4 separate regions of the Homo sapiens genome follow, and all the other regions are linked to region 2. The links are contacts of gene promoters, found by promoter capture Hi-C in blood cells and fetal thymus (Javierre and others, 2016). All regions are on one chromosome and are shown on one strand. The core of a region is centred on a gene start or on the middle of the fragment in contact, and the rest is flanking DNA. Distances in the headings are between cores, read along the strand shown. Region 1 overlaps LOC101929380 (a long non-coding RNA gene). Region 2 holds the start of LINC01949 (long intergenic non-protein coding RNA 1949). Region 3 overlaps RASA1 (RAS p21 protein activator 1). Region 4 overlaps LOC101929380 (a long non-coding RNA gene).

What was found. Contacts are between HindIII fragments. The CHiCAGO score rates a contact against its expected background, and 5 or more counts as called.
Region 1: a fragment that was not itself captured here is called in contact with the fragment with the promoter of LINC01949 in region 2 in 3 of 17 cell types (M0 macrophages, M2 macrophages and M1 macrophages); the score reaches 9.8 in M0 macrophages.
Region 3: a fragment that was not itself captured here is called in contact with the fragment with the promoter of LINC01949 in region 2 in 1 of 17 cell types (M0 macrophages); the score reaches 7.1 in M0 macrophages.
Region 4: a fragment that was not itself captured here is called in contact with the fragment with the promoter of LINC01949 in region 2 in 3 of 17 cell types (M2 macrophages, M0 macrophages and M1 macrophages); the score reaches 7.3 in M2 macrophages.

The regions. Positions count from the first base shown.
Region 1 is chr5:87,139,218-87,144,432 of GRCh38, reverse strand. All of the region lies in intron 2 of LOC101929380 (a long non-coding RNA gene), which reads right to left. Among named protein-coding and RNA genes, the nearest start is that of MIR4280HG, 20 kb to the right of the region's middle. The HindIII fragment of the contact is 6,007 bases long and covers 1-4,381 here.
Region 2 is chr5:87,235,132-87,240,799 of GRCh38, reverse strand. LINC01949 (long intergenic non-protein coding RNA 1949) reads left to right here and starts at 1,599. Exons shown (of 3, transcript NR_130914.1): 1 at 1,599-1,734; 2 at 1,819-1,985. The region is part of intron 2 of LOC101929380 (a long non-coding RNA gene); the gene reads right to left. The HindIII fragment of the contact is 4,009 bases long and covers 1-1,841 here.
Region 3 is chr5:87,325,941-87,331,090 of GRCh38, reverse strand. The region is part of intron 1 of RASA1 (RAS p21 protein activator 1); the gene reads right to left. It also overlaps a transcript of CCNH not described here. Among named protein-coding and RNA genes, the nearest start is that of RASA1, 61 kb to the right of the region's middle. The HindIII fragment of the contact is 1,239 bases long and covers 826-2,064 here.
Region 4 is chr5:87,162,051-87,167,170 of GRCh38, reverse strand. The region is part of intron 2 of LOC101929380 (a long non-coding RNA gene); the gene reads right to left. Among named protein-coding and RNA genes, the nearest start is that of MIR4280HG, 42 kb to the right of the region's middle. The HindIII fragment of the contact is 7,822 bases long and covers 1-5,120 here.

The DNA.
Region 1 (5,215 bases), core at 129-2,628, 96 kb after region 2:
TGATTCCTCAAAGCTGCTGTGGCAGAGATACCATTAATCCCAGCAATACCATTACTGGGTGTATACCCAAAGGAATATAAATAATTTTGTTATAAGATACACACACACGTATGTTCATTGCAGCACTATTCACAATAGCAAAGACATGGAATCAACCTAAATGACCATCAGTGATACACTGGATAAAGAAAATGTGGTACATATACACCATGAAATACTATGCAGCCATAAAAAGGAAGGAGATCATGTCCTTTGCAGGGACATGGATGGAGCTGAAGCCATTATCCTCAGCAAATTAATGCAGGAACAGAAAACCAAACACCGCATGTTCTCACTTATAAGCGGGAGCTGAACGATGAGAACACATGGACAAATGAGGGGGAACAACACACACTGGGGCCCATCAGGAGTGGGGCTAGGGGGAGGGGGAGCATCATGAAGAGTAGTAATCGATGCTGGGCTTAATACTTAGGTGATGGGTTGATCTTTGCAGCAAACCATCATGGCACACATTTAGCTATGTAACAAACCTACACATCCTGAACATCTATCCCGGAACTTAAAAGTTGAAGAGAAAAAAAGAATAATATTTTCAAAGACCCAGAATCATGAAAGAGTATGGCGTATTATGGATTAGAAAGATAATTCTATGCAGATGATGTTACAGTAGGATATGAGAAGAGGGGAGTGGGAAATGAAGCAGGGGAAGAAAGCAAGTATGGATTACCTTTGCAGGCTATACTTACTAAATTAGAGAGTGTTACAGATTTTACTAACAGAGTTACTTTTTTTTTTTTTTTTTTTTTTTTGAGACAGAGTCTTGCTCTGTCGCCCACGCTGGAGTGCAGTGGCACGATCTCGATCTCAGCTCACTGAAACCTCCGCCTCCCAGGTTCAAGCGATTCTCGTGCTTCAACATCCTAAGTAGCTGGGATTACAGGCATGCACCACCACGCCCAGCTAATTTTTGTATTTTTAGTAGAGACAGGGTTTCACCATGTTGGCCAGGCTGATCTTGAACTCCTGACCTCAAGCAATCCACCCTCCTCAGCCTCCCAAAGTGCTGGGATTACAGGCATGAGCCACCATGCCCAGCTGACTGAGTTATTTTTTGATGACAGCTAATTATTCTGTTGACTAATAGGGGATTGATATGAATATACTCTTTCCATTGATGGCAAAATTATGCCAGTGCTAGGGTAGGGGCAGCTGAATCCAGCAGGGACAAAACCAAATAAGGTACAGAGCTGGTCACAGTTTCTACTACATAGATTTGCATGTGATGTACATCTGTGAATGTTCTTAACTTACTGGGGGGTTTGGAGTGTGTGTGTGTGTGTGTGAGAGAGAGAGAGAGAGAAAGAGAGAGAGAGAGGCTATTTGGTTCTGTAATTGATATAAAGAAAGGTGGGCTGGGGTGGAGTATAAATCTTGGAACTCACTCTGGTATTTGAAATTCTTAACTACCTCTCTGCTCACTATTACATGGACAGTGTTGTCCTTCATGTTCTTGTGAGAAGTGAGTAATAGGTATAACATGTGAAGGTTTCTTTCACGCTTTCCTCTTGTAGTAAATGAGTATTTTAGTTCAAGAGAAAAAGGGATGCATAGAGGAACAGGTGTAATAAATAAAATCCTTAAGAAAAAGTCCTTAGTTTTTCTCAAAGGTTTAATTTTTTTTTCTCAAAATTAGTCAGCATGGCAGACTGGTCATGGGCTTTAGTAGGCAGCTTTAAGTATTCCTGTTCATTTCATTGTCCCACAGTCATAAGGTGACAAGAGGGCCCTCAGTTACAGAGTAGAGGTGGAAAGAGTCATCTTAATTATTTGGGGAAAGGATGGTCAATATCATGTGTAACAGGCTGCAAATAAAGACCTAGAAAAGCATTTGAGGTCTTGTTCCCATCCTTGACGGTCTCAGTGTTACTTCTGACAGGACGACCAGAGTGTAGAGTCTGGGGCATTCTCTAACTCAATTAAAAGTAGAAAACTTAGTATAAGATGTGTATGTGGGCAGAATTAATAGTAAGAATTGGCAGGGCTGGGCGCGGTGGCTCACGCCTGTAATCCCAGCACTTTGGGAGGCCGGGGCCAGCGGATCATGAGGTCAGGAAATCGAGACCATCCTGGCTAACACGGTGAAACCCCGTCTTTACTAAAAATACAAAAAATTAGCCAGGCGTGGTGGCGGGCGCCTGTAATCCCAGCTACTCCGGAGGCTGAGAAAGGAGAATGGCGTGAACCCGGGAGGTGGAGCTTGCAGTGAGCTGAGATCGTGCCACTGCACTCCAGCCTGGGCGACAGAGCGAGACTCGGTCTCAAAAAAAAAAAAAAAAAAAAAAAAAAAAAAGAACTGGCAGGACCTTGTCCGCCCTTCCCTTCCTTCCACTGTAATCTGATCTGTAGTATCTTTTCTATTGTTTTCCAGTACAAATCTAAATTCTTTGTATCTTATAGTATCTTAATATTCTGGACTTTGGGTGCCTTTATAAGAGGTTAAATTTTAATTTTCTCATAACTCAGTACAGTAAATATCCCAACTAGTGTAAATATCTTTAGCTTTGTGTTGAAATTTTATTTTTTAATTCCATGCCCAATATTATCTTGTAGCAGGTGCAGATTCTGTGCTTTCTGAATTCTTTGTGAACATAAATCCCAGTGGAGATATGTTTCATTCCCTGCATACCATTGTTCTGATAATGATGCTTATAAAACAGAGAGAGATACTTTCTAGCCTCCATGGCTAAGTATACATTTCAAGAAAGCCCAGTGTTCATCAAGAAAATGTGGAACTGCCTACAGGTTTTTGTGGATATATGTGTATGGTTTTGGTTAAGTTTGCTGGAGGTAAAAGCTGCCTTATTTATTGTAATCCACTGGCGTCAGTACAGTTCATAGAAAGGGTATCACACCGTGAAATTGTTATATGCCCCTTTCTGTGCTCCTGGGATCATTTAGTTGTTAAAACATAATTTAAAATGATAATTGCTGGAAATGGGCATGATCAGGGAAGTATTCCAGAGCAGCCTTGCAAATAAATACATAATATTTATAAGCACACTTTGAAAAACCTATTTTCTAGACTCCATTTAAGAAATATCTAGGTGAGGGAAAACGGATAAAATGAAATCAGTATTTTCTACTATTCATTTAGTCTGTGTCAAAATTTTCCAGAAGCAAGCGATTGTTTGCCAGTAACAGAATGGTGCCTTAATGCTTCTCTTTCTCTCTCACTTCATTCCTCCCTTCCATTCGCCTGCCCTCTCTCCCTCCCTTCCTCCCTCCCTCCCTTTCTTCCTTTCTTCCTTCCTTCTGTCCTCCCTTCCTCCCTCCCTCTCCCCCTCCCTCCCTTTCTCTCTCCTTCTTTCCCTCTCTCCCTCTCTCCTTCCCTTCCTCTTTTTGTTAGTGCAAATTGTGATGTGATTGTGGAATCTCTGAGGACAATGAATGTCATGTTAATAAGTTCATCTTTAATATACGATGCAAACTGCTGCACAGTGAGAAATTCTGTCTATATAACTCACTCTGGAAGGTTTAGAAAGTTGCATACCCATCCTAAAATAAATCTAGGCATAGTAAGTTCCTGCCAGTTATTCATGAGAAGCACGTTGGGATTGTTAGACTTATCTCTGAAGAATAGATGGGTGCTTCTCATCCCTATCTTGACTGATCTTGCTCCAGAGCTAGCGTCTCACATTTCCAATTGCTGCTAGACAGTTTCTTGTGAATGACCTTTTGTTGCCTAAAATTCTGCATGGGTAAAGCTAAATGTTAAACATGGTTTCCTTGCTTACCTTAATCTACTAATGTGTCTATTTTTTGTTTTCTTCACTCAGTCAGTTGCCAAAATCCATCAATGTTTTCCTTTCCCCATTTCCTGCGGTCCTTCTCATCTCCACTTCCCTCTTTCCTACTGCCCTTTTATCCATTTGTGCCTTTATTTGCCCATTGTACATTAAGTGTGTTCTCTATGTAGATCTTTGGGTGTACAGATATCCATAAGGCAGCCACACAGTTCTCTCTTTGTCTTGCTTTTTTACTGATAGAACAATTTAAGAGTCTTCTAACTAAATCTTTGTTTTTAATATCCTTTATCTTTTTATTATTCTCTTCCTACCAACCTTCCATTCTACACAATTGTTGCCAAATTAGTTGATGGAAGGTTTTTCTATCAAATTTCCTTTGAATAGGTCACTCTTCAGTTTTTTTAAAAAAATGCTTACTTGGTCTTTATTTTCCACAGGAAAATAGAAGTGGTGTAGGGGCATGGGAAGTACTTCTTTCCTCCCCATCCTCAAGCCAAGCATTCAAGACTGTCCTCAAGATGAGCCCCACCTGTCTTTTCAGTATGCATCATTCATCTTAAGTTTCTTCATAAGCTTTTCACCCCAGTGGCACTGATGTGTTCACTACCTTCTGAGTAAGCCAGGTGTCTTTCCAGTGCTATGCTGGCACATTCCTTTCCCCCAAAATCACCCCTCACTTATGACTTTGCCAGTACAAACTTCTTTCCTTCAAAATACAGGTCAATCATAAAGCTTCTCTCAATCCTCTAGGCCAGGAATTGACTTTTTTTTTTTTTTCCTGTGAAGGGCCAGACAACAAATATTCTAGGCTTTCTGAGCCATACAGTAATTGTGGTAATCATTCAACTCTGTTGTAGCATGAAAGCAGACATAGATAATATACAAAGGAATGGGTGTAGCTGTGTTCCAATAAAACTTCATTTGTACCAACCTGGTCAGCATAGGCAGATCCTGTCCATACAACAAAATAAAAAATTTAGCTGGGCATGTGCTTGTAGTCCCAGCTACTCAAGAGGCTGAGATGGGAGGATTACTTGAGCCCAGGAGTTACAGGCTGCAGTGAAGTAGGCCCACACCACTGTATTCTAGCCTGTGTGACAGAAAGAGACCATGTCTCTTAAAACAAACAAATAAACAACAACAACAAACCCTTTACTTGCTGACATTGAACATTCAGTTTTAAATATTTTTCATGTGTCATGATATACTATTCTCCTGTTTAGTTTTGTTCAATCAGTTTTGTTTAACAATTTAAAAATGTTAAAAACTAGTCTCAGCTCATGGGCCATCTAAAAACAGGTGACAGGTAGATTTGGCCTGTGGGCTGTAGTTTGCAGACTACTGATTGAGGCAGAAGTTTCCCTCATAATTCCTGATAGGAAGTCCCTTGAACTATGCACTTGGTGTGC
Region 2 (5,668 bases), core at 350-2,849:
ATTTGATAATCATACAAATGCAAAATAATAAGAAATGTTGTATGAAAGTGCTTAGAGAGTCTGCCTTATTGAATATTGTTTGTTTTTGAACTGTGTGTTGGTAGGAGGTACTCCTGACAATTTTCACTTTACAAACATTTATTTCTTGATTTAACCTACCACCAGGATGACGGCTGTCACTCACTGATTCACCAAAAATTGGACAAATTGCTTACTTATTTTTGTTGATTTTTCTTAAATGTATGTATAGCTTACATTTATATCAATATTCAACATTAGAAGTGTTTCAAGTCTTCACTTAGAAATTTGTTGATGTTTTTGTGATACAAATATGCCATAGGAACTAATTCTTGTTTATATTAATTAGCCTATAGTAAAACTGGTTTTGTTACATGGCATCTCACTTGAAGTTGAAGTTTCCAAGACCCTATCAACAACGTTGAGAACTTACTGTCATAGGTTGAAAAACTGTACACCAGGAACCGGACCAAAATAGATCTGACAGTAATATTGATATTAGAAAACAACTTTAAGTCTAATAATGATTTTTCTCTAAAGAGGTTGATTACTTCATGATAGAAGGATCATGTCACCATGATGACACAGACTGTTAGTGCACATCAATATCCATTTTGTCCTCTTCTTTTTTGGCATACAACCAAAACTTACATAGGCTTTTTATCATTTTACTGGGCCTATGTAACTGAGTTTTAGCCAGTGGAATATGTCCAAGTGACATTTGCCACTTCTAGGTCTGGCACATTAACACTTGATGTATTACATTTCAGACCCTCTTATCATTCTGCAGTGTGTTTGGCGATCTGTTGTTTAAGATCTATATGCACTGGTTACTGTTGCTTGCCTTCCATTCCTACCCTTACTAATCAGATTCCTATTATAGCTACTTCTGTCCTTGATTCATTTTGTATATTAGATGTGTGTGTGTTCATGTGCATGCATGCACCCTCACATGTAGGTGTATATGGGAGTGGTGGTAAAGACAGGATATTTCTTCAGTTCATGGGATTTTATTTCAGGAGAATTCAAACATTCACGTATTGGAGAAGATGACACATTTCTTGAATGTCTTGGGCTTTGAGCTGAATGCACTAACTAGAAGGGACTTCAGATTGTCCTCCTTCGGGGGAGGTAAGTATATTCTTCATATACAGGTAAGAGTGAAATGATAGAAGAATGTTCCTCCTCTCCTTTTCTTCCTGGACAACAGATCAAATATTTCTCAGATCTTTTACAGCTGAATTGGAGTCACATGGACAGGTATGATCTTAAAATATAAAAAATTATTTTAAAATTACATGCTAAAATTTTATAAAAATAAATGCTAAAACTAACTTAAACGGAAGCATTTGATTAAAAAATTTATCCAAAAAAGTTTGAATTTTATATGAAACAGGATAGAAGATGAAAAAGCTAAAGAAATAAAATATAAATAAATTATGGCTGGGGACAGTGGCTCACACCTGTAATCCCAGCACTTTGGGAGGCTGAGGTGGGAGGACTGATTGAGGCTAGGAGTTTGAGACCTGTTATTTGAGGCACATGGGAAGGAAAGTTTTCTTTGAGATATTCCACATTTTATAATATTCTTCAAGAGATTTACAGAGTTCCTTGAGTGAATTGTTGGTTTGTTCTTAATACTGAATTTCCTATTCAAATTTATTTAGAAGTTCATTTCTTACAGTGATCTCATCTCCTATTAAGATATTCTTCAAGGTAGGTTCTTGGCCAGTTTCTCAATGACAGATTTTTAAAAATATTGTTAATCTTTTTATTAATATGAGAACATAATTGTTCCAGATCTGGAGGCCATCCTTTAAGCTTCTTGCAACAGTCTGGGAGCAAAGAGTTTACTCGCCACTGGGTAGTGGGCCATGGACACCCCAGTCTCCACCAGAAGTTCGGGATTGCAAAATGGGACTCTGGCAGCAAATTTCAAACTGTATGCCAGACCTGGCCCTTTGCAGGTGGGCATCACTAAAAATTTAAATTACCAAAATTGACTCAAGAGTAAATCTATGTCTGAGGAGAAAGCCTTTGGAAAAATTGAATTAGTAAGCAAAAACCTACCCAAAATAAATAACAGTAAGTCTAGAAAATTTTACACAGGGATTACCAACAAACATTCAAAGCACAGAAAAATCTCTTTAGCACAAAATGCTACAAAATACAGAAAAAGAGGAAAATTCTGTAGTTTCTCTCATGAAGTTAATATATTCTAGTTAGCTGAACTAGAAAAATAAGAGAAAGAAAAATTATAGGTTAATCTTCCTTATGAGTACATGCAAGTATCATAAGATGTTGACAAATTGAATCAAGCATTTTAAAAAATGCATTATGATCAAATATGATTTATCCTAGAAATAATGTATGAGAGTTATAAAATTCCCATTAACATTAGGAACAAGCATTAATACTTATTATCTCCACCAATAATCATCATTGCTCTGGAGTTCCTAACCAATGAAATAAGAAAGAAATAACCAGTTATATGGATTAGGGAAGATCAAATATTGATTATTTGAATATTTTTTTTTATAGAAAATCCAATAATTGTACAGCTGAAGAACTGGAATAGGAGAGTTAAGCAAAGTTTCTACATACAAGAGCAAAGTGGTCAAATCAATAGGTTATCTGTAGGCCAGTGCTAATTACATTGACATGGTGGCCTTAAAATTTTTACATGCAATTCATAAATCAGTTTCACTGATATTACTTTACCAGATATTGATATTCTAATGTTGTAATTATACAACTGTATTATTGTGTCAGAAATAAAATTAATAGACCAACAAAACAAAACTCAGAACAGATTCACATATTTGATAACTTGGTGTATGACAAGTGTGACATTAAAATTCAGGAGTAAAATAAAAAAATAACAAATAATGCCGGGATAATTGGTTAGTCACATGGGAAAAAGTCAGAAAGATCTCTGCCTCACTCTATTTACATGGAATATACTTCAGATGAAAGAAACTTAAATACAAAGAGCAAAACTTTAAGACTTTTAGAAAAAGATAGGAGAATTTATGACTTCCAGTAAGGAAAGCTTTCTTAAGCTAGATGCAATGGCATAAACGACAAAATGCATTTTTTTTATAACATTAAATAAAACATGTGTTCCGTAAAAGACACCAAAATACAATTAAGAGATAAGTTACAGTGTCTTAGTCCATTCTGGCTGTATAAAAAAATACCATAGACTGAGTGGCTTAAACAACATTTATTTCTCATAGTTTCTGGAGGCTGAGCAGTCCCAGTCAAAGAGAGCCCACTTTCTAGTTTATAGACCACCATCTTCTCACTATGTCCTCACATGGCAGAAAAACAAGATGGCTCTCTGGAGTACTTTTTACAAGAGCACTAATCCTATTTATGAGGGATTCACCCTCATGATATAATCACTTTCCAATGGCCTCAGATCCAAATACTATCACTTTGGAAGGCAGGATGGGGGTGGGAGGATTGGATTTCAACATAGGAGTTTTTTGGGGACACAAACATTCAGTCCATAGCACACAGACTGGGAGAAAATATCTGTGATGCATACATCTTACAAAATAATTCATATCTAGACTATAAAGAGCTCCTCAGGTAGATAAGAAATATCAAAAGAGAACAAAAACATAAACATAGTTCACAGAAGAGGAGACTCAGATGGCCATAAATATATGGAAAAAATGCTTAACCATTTATCATGAAAATGTGAATGTGAACCAGAGTTTACCTATAACATACAACAAACTTCCAAAATGACTGAAAAACAAAACCTTATATTAGCAAGTAAAACACATACAAACACAAACACACACACTTCTACAGGAGCAGGAATTTATACAACCACTGTGGCAGTCACTATTGGTTACCCATAACATATCTATCCACATTTCTTCTTAAAGAGCAGAAGCACAATTTTATAAGTATGTGATTTCTAGGTTCTCTATGTCTATGCGTCTATTTTTATGCAATATCATGCCATGTAGTTACCATAGCTTTGTCGTATATTTTGAAGTCAGGTAGTGTGATGCTGCCAGCTTTGTTTTTGTTTGTTTGTTTGTTTTTGTTTTTGCTTAGGATTGCTTTGGCTGTTTGGATTTTAGGGTTTTTTTTCTATTTTTGTGAAGAATGTTATTGGTATTTTGATAGGAATTGGATTGAATATGTAGATTACCTTGGATGGCATGGTAATTTTAAAAATATTAATTCTTGCAATCCATAAATATAGGATGACTTTTCATTTTTTGTGTCCTCTTAATTTTTTCATCAGTGTTTTGTAGTTTTCATTTTAGAGATATTTCACCCCCTTTATTAAATTTATTCCTAGACTTTTTTGGGTAGGTATAATTATAAATGGAAATGCTACTGATTTTTGTACGCTGATTTTGTATTTTGCAGCTTTACCGAATTTGTTTATCAGCTCTAAGAGTTTTTTGGTCATCTTTAGCATTATCTATATATAAGATCATGTTATCCGCAAACAGGGACAGTTTGACTTCTTCCTTTCCAGTCTGAATGGCTTTTATTTCTTTCTCTTGCCTAAGTGATCTAATTAAGACTTCAATACTATGTTGAATAAGAGTAGTGAAAGTGGGCATCCTTGTCTTATTCCAGTTTTTAGAGGAAAAGCTTCCATCTTTTCCCCATTCAGTATGTTAGCTGTGGGTTTGTCATATATGGCTTTTATTGTGTTGAGGTGCTTTCCTTCTATGCCTAATTTGTTGAAAGTTTTTATCATTAAGTGATATTGAATATTATGAAATGCTTTTTCTGCATCTATTGAAATGATCATTTTTTTAATTCTTCATTCTGTTGATGTGATATATCACGATTATTGACTTGCATGTTTTGAACCATCCTTGCATCCTTGGGATAAATCCCACTTGAACTTGAAGCCAGGCTCAGTGGCACATGCCTGTAGATGCAATATGTGTAGTTGCAACAATCCTCCCACTCCTGACGTGGGAGGATTGCTTGAGCCCAGGAGTTTGAGACCAACTTAGGGAACATAGTAAGAGACCAACTTGGGGAACATATTAAGACCCCATCTAAAAAAATGACAATAAAAATCCAACTCGATCATGTATAATCTTTTTGATATGTTGGTAGATTCAGTTTTCTAATATATTGTTGAGATTTTTTGCATCTATGTTCATCAGGGATATTAGCCTGTAGTTTTCTTTTTTGTTGTATTTTTGTGTAGAATTATAAAAAAAGATCTACACAATATATCTTCTAATTGGAGATTGTGGTTGAAATGTGATCTTTTTATATACAATTGTTTCAAATTAGACATTGAAGTTTTTAATACACTTATTTATAACTGGCATTTAAATTATAACCTCAAACAACAGTATTTACTCAAACTATGATTTTTCGACTATTAGCCAATATGTGGCAGTTAGAATTTTGGCTGTTTCCTGAAAGAAACTTCCCCAAATATCTGTGAAAAGTATTATGAATTAAAGATATATTAATTCTACTGTTTTAAAAATATATTTTATACATAATTAAGGAAATTAAAATTTGTACAATAACAGTCCTACTTTTTGTAAAACAGAAAACTTCAGTTTAAATGCTAAAATGGAAATGATTTAGGTTGGAGATAACTCATATCTGTTGCAGGAAGTATAATTTTTAAATTTTATCT
Region 3 (5,150 bases), core at 196-2,695, 90 kb before region 2:
CTCCCTACTTCCAGGATTGCCTGCTATTCAAAATATAAACACTACTGCAACCAGATCTTTACTTAGAAAAATAAAAGATAGACAAATGGAAATGATTAATTTACTACCTCGATCTTATACTGAGGAACCATGACTTCACAAGGCACATGGAACCTATGAGAATATAAAATGTTTTATTCCATTTTAGTGTTTGTGCCCTGCGACAGGAAAACAGAATTACACTGTCTAAAGGATGCTATTTTAATTTCCTGTTTGAACGTGAAGCTGATTAATCCCTTTGGCTCTAAGATAATCTACTCCATGACTATACATTTTACATTTGCACTCAACTTTCCAAATTTATGTAACAAACATGTGGGAGAATAAATAGCACCTTTGTCCCTTCACCCTTCTTGCTCTCAGTTTAACTGTGTTCTACCTACATACTATCAAATGATCTACTTAAGAAACTGGCTGTAACTCTAGCATACCAAGTATGCCTATAAAAGCCTCATGGACTGATATAAACAGAAACATGCTTAGAAATATACTAGAAGTATCATACAGGCATGGTAACAAATCTCCAAAGTAATTGCTATAAAATATTTTTACATTTGATAGTTTAGCCAAACTCATCCTTAGATACTTACAGCCTAATTTGAAACATCCAGAGAAAAACAATAAACATTCATATTACATTGATATATTCAATTATGTAACATAATATAGTACTTCAGCTTTACCAAAGTTTATTTGTAATCTTATATGTGTAATAATGTATGTATTTTATATAATATATAAGCCAATGATAAAAGCATTATGTTACTATGACTATTTTTGTAAGCTTGTTGTAATAAAAGCCCATTATTTTTGACTCCTTAATTTTTAAAAATAAAACAAAAACACAGAAACTTAAAACTTATGGAAAGAATTACTTTTAGTTTTCTTCTAAAACCAAGCTATTTATTTAGAGCCCTATGCATAAGGCTGAAAATAATGAACTTATTTATAGCGTTCCATTACGACTTAACAAACAAAATATAATTGTAACCTGTTAGTACTAGAGGAAGAAGGGAAAGAACAATCAATACTGCATTCCTCTAAAATCCTAATCTTAGTTCAGCCATTATCTTTGAGACAAATGACAAGTAAATTTAACTTTCAAGAGCTCAGGGACTTTTTAAATCTGAAATGGAAAGTTTACACCAGAGATCGTAAATGAACCCTAAGGAACTATAATTTAACGACATAAGAGAATAAAATTTTGAAATTTCAGGCTATGAGTTTATTTAGTTGTGAAAATATATGGGATATCCTTAGGTTATCCTTAGAATATGAAACTAGTGCATTCCTCATTACTTAAAGCAGTAGAACTATCCCAGAGAGCAGATTTATATACCCAACAAAGATAAAATTAAGGACAATTTTTAAAAATCTCTATTTTTATATACTTGTTATTTGTTAAATTTCTGTTATGTCTTAGGTAGTGTCAAGATGAAAAAGGTTTTTCTTTAATCTCCTTCATCTTTTGAACTTACCATTGAAATGATACACAGAGATACATGAGGCATTACACAATTACTACTTTATAAGAAATATCCAACTTATGATTTTAAGTAATATATATGTTTATTTGTGGTTTTTAGTTGTTTTTGTTTTGTTTTGTTTTAAGACGGGAGTCTCACTCTGTCGCCCAGGCTGGAGTACACTGGTACGATCTCAGCTCACTGCAACCCCCACCTCCCAGGCTCAACCCATCTTCCCACCACAGCCTCCCAAGTAGCCGAGACTGCAGACACATGCTACCACATCCAGCTTTTTTTTTTTTTTGGAGAGACAGAGTTTTGCCATGTCACCCAGGCTGGTCTCAAATTCCTGGACTCAAGTGATCTGCTCACCTCAGCCTTCCCAAGTGCTAGGATTACAGGTGTGAGCCACCACACCGAGTCGATTTTTTACATCTATGTACTTTCTAAGATCTGAGCATTAAAATGGATAAGTCAGTTCAGGAGAAAGACATTAATCTAAATAAGTAACTATTTCCTAAATGTTAGCAATTTCCTTCATGTCAAAAGGTCGTAAGCTTCAAACACATAAAGCAAAACATGTCAATTCTTGATTATGACTATAAACTGCAATTAAATTATCCAGCCATCAGCTTGTAAATATTTACTTAGTTGATTTGATCCTTAAATGTTTTATAAATAAATCACAATAAATCCAATGTTACAAGATTTGATTCAGACACCTTACAGATTTCTAGAACCTAAGTAAAATACTATATAACCTTTAAACACCAGTCCTTGGGTTTACTCAAAAACAGTATTTCTCAACCATTTTTTAACCCACAATCTTTTATATAAATATAAAAATTTTACCCTACTGAGAGATTCAGAGTCCCTAAGGTGGCTGTCCTGCATAGAGAATCATATATTCTAATTAGCCCCAGTAGCCAAGAAAATGCTGTCTACCTTAACTTTCTGAAGTCTGTAATTCTTTTTATTTCAGGTGGGATATGGCTTTACAAAACATACTCTCAATAACAAAGATATAACATTTCCCAAGAGTGAACACTTTGGGAGTGGTTATTTGTCTAAAATACTCAATTTTTAAAAATGCTACACTTTCTGCCTCTACAAATAGTCACAGCAATAAAATTACAAAGAAATACAAGAAAACATATTTAATCAACCCCACTATTACTCTTAAGTCTTCACAGTCAAAGCCTTATTATATCTCTTTAAAAGTAGATTTGCTGGTGACCGTTTTCAAATAAGTTTAAAAAAAAATTCAACTGGAATCTAGAATACCTCAAAGAAACATAAGCATAAGAATCATACTGGTGGTATGAGAATACTCTGAGTGTAACATGAGATTACTAAACAATAGCTCATCATCTAAGTTAAAGTTTATCAATCTGCTCACATTTGTGGCAATTATAACACAGAATATACCTGGCACATAGCAATAATAAGTTTTAAAAGTATTTGTCCAATGAAAGAAGAAGTGTTGACTCATAAAACAATGTTGAAAAATACTTTATAAGTCATCTAGTTAAACCACCATGCCAATGTAAAAAACAAAACAAAAACTTTTCTTTTTTAACGTCCACATAGGAAGTTCTCTCTCTTTTTTTTTTTTTTGGGAAACGGAGTCTTGCTCTGTTACCCAGGTTGGGGTGCAGTGCCATGCTCTTATGGCTCACTGCAACCTCCGCCTCCTGGGTTCAAGTGATTCTCCTGTCTCTGCCTCCCAAGTAGCTGGGATTACAGGTGTGTGCCACCACATCCGGCTAACTTTTGTATTTTTAGTAGAGACGGGGTTTCACCATGTTGGCCAGGCTGGTCCCGAGCTACTGACCTCAGGTAATCTGCCTGCCTCGGCCTCCCAAAGTGCTGAGATTACAGGTGTGAGCCACTGCACCCAGCCAAAAATTCTGACATGTGAAAAGAATGTGAAAACAGTTTAGGCTGACAGAACTCAAAGAAGTATGATTATGCTGACACTCCCTGAGCTTGTTCAAAAGAGACAATGCATACTAGCAGAAGACCAAGACTTAACAGAAACCCAAGAAACCTCCAATCTATGGCAATGCCACCCTAAACATACCAAATCTCGTCAGAAACTGTCTCCACAGTTACGGCCAAGTCTTTACATTTTTTATGTCGTTACCATCACTTGTAAATTAGGGAAATTAATTTCTATCTCAACCTCAGAATAAAATTAATGACTTGTACTAAATTCCTTTAAAGAAAAATACAAAAATGAAAAATACTACATAGGCTTTATAGTAGAACGGTTAAAAGACTCTAGAGTCACTGTCTTTGAATCCCAGCTCTGCCACCTAGCTGCGCAAATGTAGGCAGATTACTTTATCTCTGAGCCTCAGTTTCCTCATCTATAAAAGGAATATAATAGTGTCTACCTCAGAGAATGTTGGCTTAATATTATTATTAAATGAGCTAACACATATAAAGTTGCTTAGAAGAATACCTAATGGATACCAAGAACCCAGTAAATATTAGCTTAATTAATATCAAACCAGTATCACAGGGGAGTAGAGGATACTCAAAGGATATGGGACTGATTAATAAACTTCTTCAAAAAAACTAACAAATTTTATGACTGTTGCAAAATGGGTGATCAATCTGTGAATCATCTTAGTCTCAATTACCTATTTTCCAGTCTTGTTTACTTTCCATCTAATTTGGGGAAGAGAACAGGAGAAACCAATCTTTTTTTCTACTAAGGCATTAATTTTAGGAGGAAATTTTCTCAAAACTCTTTTTGAACATTATAGAGCATTCAAATTAATTGGGGCTGCAAGTGCCATACTATTAATAAACTAGAAATTCTATTTCACCTGGCAACTCTAGAAGGAAACCCCCAAAGAGCCCCCATTCTTTTCCCAATGTGTGTATATTTTGGGTGTTGGGGGCAATATAAAGGATAGTATGTACTTGAGATACTATGACTTAAAACTGCTTAATGTAACACATTAATAATAAAGCATTTAATGTTCTCCTATTTTAAAAGTAAATCTCCCTCTCTCTTCTTCTTTGCCTCTCTAAGGAAGATGGGGAAAAGGAATAGCAGGAGGAAATTCAAGAAGTACATACATGTCTTCCCAGCTAGCTTTGTAAATTTTTGTTGAGAAATCTTACAGGTAGATATGGAGTCCCTTAATTTCATTTTTTTAGAAATACAAATCAATTTACATACAATATCATACATCTAAGATGAAACTGCATGTTAAAAAAGTGAACAATTAAAAAAAGTCACAGAAATCACTCTATTTTAAATTTGGAATCACATGAACATTTTTTATAAATGTGTGCTGTGGCCAGGCGCAGTAGCTCCCAACTTTATAAACCAGCAATTTGGGAGGCTGAGGAGGGGACTGCTGGAACCCAGGAGTTCATGACCAACCCAGGCAATATGGCAAAACGCCATCTCTACAAAAAATACAAAAATTAGCCAGGCATGGTGGCACATACCTATGATCCCAGCTACTCGAGAGGCTGAGATGGGAGGATAGCTTAAGCCCGGGAAGTCAAGCCTGAAGTGAGACAAGATTGTGCCACTGCACTCTAGACTGGGCAACAGAGAGAGACCCTGTCACAGGGGAAATAAAAAAGGGGGTGGGGGGCTGCTGCATATTGCTGGAACAC
Region 4 (5,120 bases), core at 2,466-4,965, 76 kb after region 2:
ACACCTGCTTTTTTGGTCTCTACTATACCTTTATCTTTGCCCTCTATTTTTTGTTTCCTTCTCTTCTTTTATTTCTGGCTTCTATACCTTATGTTTACACCCAGTGACATTTCCAACATTGCCTGGTTTGCTGTTAGTATATATTATTATATTCAGGTTTTAGTAAATTAATATACGTATATATTAGAGTATAGCAATATGGCCAATGGAACTGCCAGGCTATCCAACTCTGTAGGTACATCAAAAGGCTTTCTAGGAGGGCTTTGTCTATGAAACATGCAGCCACATCCATATTTTAACTTGCTCATATTTATTTGACAAAGAGAGATTTGTCAGAGCTTGACTTTATTTCCAGAGATTCAATCTAAACACCAATTTCAAATTCTGAAAATTAAGCCCTTCCAATATTTCTTAGCCAGAGGGATGAATAATTACCAATAAATCTGATAAGGTGGATAAAGGAGTTCATGTGACTTCTAGTTATGGTTAACATGCTTGAAAGTATGGCACACATACACACACTAGCAAACAAAAACACTGTGAAGAAGTACTTAAACTTGAACAGAATTTCCAAATAATGGAAAAATGCAGTGCCCTAGAGTAAATGGGTCCTAAAATAGCACTAGTTTTTTCCCCCTCAAAATAAGCTATATCACTACTCAGCAGACAAAGCCATTGTTAATTTTTTTCTTGTCAGCTGTGTTACTATGTCATTTGAGTCAAAGAATGAAGCATATGTGAATGAAAAAGTATAAGGAATATCACCAAATTGGTGAGTGGGGGTAGTAAAAAAAAAATATGACTGTCATAGATTTGCAGATTCGGTTTCCAGATTCCAGCAGTGCCTGCCGCTTGTGATGCTACTACAAAAATAACATCATATTTTTATATTGAGGCCATTTTTTAAAAGACTTTGAAAATGTATAGGCTGGGTGCAGTGGCTCACGCCTGTAATCCCAGCACTTTGGGAGCCCAAGGTGGGTGGATCACAAGGTCAGGAGTTCAAGACCATCCCAGCCAAGATGGTGAAACCCCGTCTCTACTAAAAATACAAAAATTAGCTGGGCGTGGTGGCGGGTGCCTGTAATCCCAGCTGCTCTGGAGGCTGAGGCAGAGAATTGCTTGAACCCAGGAGGTGGAGCTTGCAGTGAGCCAAGATCACGCCACTGCACTCCAGCCTGAACAACAGAGCGAGACTCCGTCTCAAAAAAAAAAAAGAAAATGTAGCTAATGCCATCATCCCACAGGTACTACATGAGTCAAGTGTTTTAGTAGCTATTAAACCACTGTCAGATTTACCTGAATTACATAAAAAGTAGATGCCATATATTAATAAGTTATATCACTTATTTATAAATCAATAGAACCAAATATGGCAGTAAAACAATAAATTTAGTTTAGTGTCTTTGTTTGTTTTTTGAGACGGAGTCTCACTCTGTCACCAGGCTGGAGCACAGTGGCGTGATCTTGGCTCACTGCAACCTCCGCCTCCCAGGTTCAAGCGATTCTCCTGCCTCAGCCTCCTGAGTAGCTGGTAATACAGGCACACCCTACCACGCCCAGCTAATTTTTAAAAAATTTTTTTATTTTTAGTAGAGATGGGGGTTTCACCATGTTGGCCAGGATGGTCTCGATCTCTTGACTTCGTGATCCACCTGCCTCGGCCTCCCAAAGTGCTTGGATTACAGGCGGGAGCCACTGCGCTTTACCAAATTTAGTTTTTAAAAACCTGATCGAGAACATAGGGCAAATATTGTGTAGCTATACTTTCTTTTACTTAAATAAATCAATGTTTCTGATTCTTCTGTGGCTGTATTGATTGTCAATTACCTAAGATCCTAGAGCATCAGTTCCCTGCTCACTCTGATTTCTTTTCTACTCGGTTAAGTTTACAGTATCTTAACTAGGGTGCAAATGTCTAAAAAGACCGTGGATAACCTCACATTGTTCACACTATACCTGGAATTGCTGTTTTCTATTCATTATCTAAACCAGAACATTGGGGAGATATAGTATATACCTGTGGATTTACTTTTAGTTTGGGAAAGCAAACACACTCTTGTCTGTTAGCAAAGGAGCTGCATCCTCAATACTAGAACTTGCAAGTTATTCCCCTTTGGAGAGCCCAAGAGAAGGGAACTTAGTCCAATTACTTCTATTTACTCACAAGACAGTTGAAGTAATCCAAGTCACAAAACTTGTTAGAAACCTGAGTGAAACCAAAGCCCTGTGCTTCCATTTCCAGTTCAGTGTCTTGCCCCTTCTTCCACTGTAACATATTTACTTGAATATATGAGGTATTTACTATACTTGGTGTATAGATATGTATGCCATTTTAGGGGTTTTCAGACAAAATTAAATTCACACTCAATTTTTTTTTGCTATCATAAATGCAATAGCAGTTGAACTTATAGCTGAAGGAACACTTGACAATATTCTCTTATTCCTCTTTTTTATGTGTAGAGGGAAGGAAAAGATTCCATTAGATGATCTCTATTGTTTCTTCTAGTTTTAATATCCTCTGAATCCATGAATCATCCTAGTACACATTGGTATGCAGCAAACGGCAAGAGGTATGTCTTTGTAAATTTAAGTTGTTGATATAAATTCCTGTAGTGCACATTTACTACTGAAAGCATAGAATAAGAATAACCACCACAGCTTAAATGAGTATTTATTCTCCCTTTACTGTTGCCACACTGCATACTCTCCTGCCCCTACCATTTCTCCCCTTCATTCCCTATCAATCTGTGTAATGCGATCAGTCTGTAAATGCAAGGTAGTAGAATCAAAAGAGCACAGGCTTTGTTATAAGACAGACATAGGATTTGAATCCAGGCTGTGCAGCTTTGAACCACATGCTTAATCTTCCTGAGTCTCAGTTTCTTCCACTGTAATAGAGGTATACTAATATAGACCTGAGAAGATGGTTAGTAGGATTGGTGACCACGTAAGATGCCCAAACAATGTTGTGATGATAATAATAAACGATCACATTCTTATTATTATTACAAAACAAGTGTTTTTCAAAATTTGCAGTGGGGAGAGGTTAACAGTTTATGTGTTCCTCAAAATTAACTGGAGGTGGTCCCACTTCACTGCCCCCCGCCCCCCACAACACTCCATTTGTAAAAGTGTCACTTTTCTTTTTGTTTTTATAATACCCTAATCTGCCTAACTGCAGGGGACAAATTTAGTTTGCTGTTATTAAAAAAAAAATCATTTAGAATGCAGTTCTACTTTGGTAGACTTTAACATTACTGCCAGCAAGTCCCATTACAATCGTGTCTGCTTGAATATCTGAAACATCTTAAGATTTAAAAATTATTGTTCTGTGTTACAAATATAATAGCTTACATTGTAAATGAGTTCTCACCAGTTTTAGATGAAAGTATGATGGGACAAAATGTTGGATTTAGTTAATAATCTATAATTGTGGTTAGTTTATTTAAAATGAAGGCCTAATATTGAGATGTACCAAGTAGGAAGAAGAAAAGGGATTGAATAGAAAATAAATTATGAAAGAAAAGTAAATCTCAAACAATGACCAGTATGCATGGTAATCCTACATTAAAAGTAGGTAGAGTGAAGAGAAATAATATAAAAATGGTGAACTACCTGGGAGTAAAAATGTCTTCTAGAAAAATATATGTTAATTCATTTTTCATGGCTCCTGTTTTATAAGATTAAGGTGACTGCACTGACTACAATCTTTAAAAAATTATTTTACTAGCTATCAAAAGTAACTTAGGTTCATAGTAAAAATTTCAGAACGTATGAGAACTAAAGAGAAAAATAAAGATTGGTCCCAAGATAACTTTTGGTATCTTTCATCAGTTCTTTTTTCATGCATCATGCATATATGATATCATTTGTTTAATAAAATTTGGACATTAGTATATAAACAGTTTAAAACCTTATTATGGAAAATCTTTTTCAACTTATAAGAAAGTAGAAAAACTGTATAATGAAATCCCCATATGCCTAGCAACAATTATTAGTCTTTGGCCATCTTGTTTTATCTATACCTTCTTCTAATCCTCCAACCCTAAATTATTTCAAAGCAAATCTATATGATCTATTATTTTCATCCATAAATGTTTTAATATGTTCCTCTAAAAGATAACTCTTCTACAAAACAAACAAAAATATGAATATCAAACATTAACAAATTAACCATGATTCCTTCATATTATCAAATAGCCACAGTATGTTTTATTTTTTAAAATTTGGCTTCTGTTTGACAATATCATGGCCATCTTTCACTTGCAGTGTAAAAGTCTATTGACTACAACACTGAAGTAATTTGTATTGCCAAAAAAGTGAGTGCCAATTTTCCTACATTTTATCTCAGGTTGGATTTTAATCTTTCTTTTAATCATTGTCAATTTGACAGATTAAAAATAAAAACTTGTTTTCATGTTTGTTGTCCAGTTATATTTTTTGTTAATTGCTTTTTTATGCCTTTTACTTCTATTGAAGTGTTTATTTTTTCTTATTGATTTGTAAGCGTTCTTTACAAACCTGTGTATTTCCTCAAATTGTTCATACTCTGGCTAGTCTTGGTATAATTTTACATTATGTTTTCTATTCATTTACTAAGCCAGAACACTGGAGAGAAAGTTTATATTTGTGGATTTATTTGTATTTTGGGGAAACATTATTTTCCCAATTGCCTTCTAAGCCTAGTCATAATGCCCTCTTCTCTGTTACGAAGTGGAGATTAAGTTAAGCCTTTGTCATATACGTTTCAAATATTTTTCTCGTCATTTATTTGTCACCTTTGTTCACAACAGTTATTTTTCTCTATACCCAAATTTTCCTATCTTAAGATGAGCATAGGTTACAAATTTTCTTCTTATACTTTTATCATTTTATTTTTCATTTTAGAAACTTAATTCAGGCCAGGTGCAGTGGCTCACGCCTGTAATCCCAGCACTTTGGGAGGCCGAGGCAGGCGGATTACGAGGTCAGTAGATCGAGACCTTCCTGGCTAACACGGTGAAACCGCGTCTCTACTAAATACAGAAAATTAGCCAGGCGTGGTGGCGGGCGCCTGTAGTCCCAGCTACTTGGGAGGCTGAGGCAGGAGAATGGCGTGAACCTGGGAGGTGGAGCTG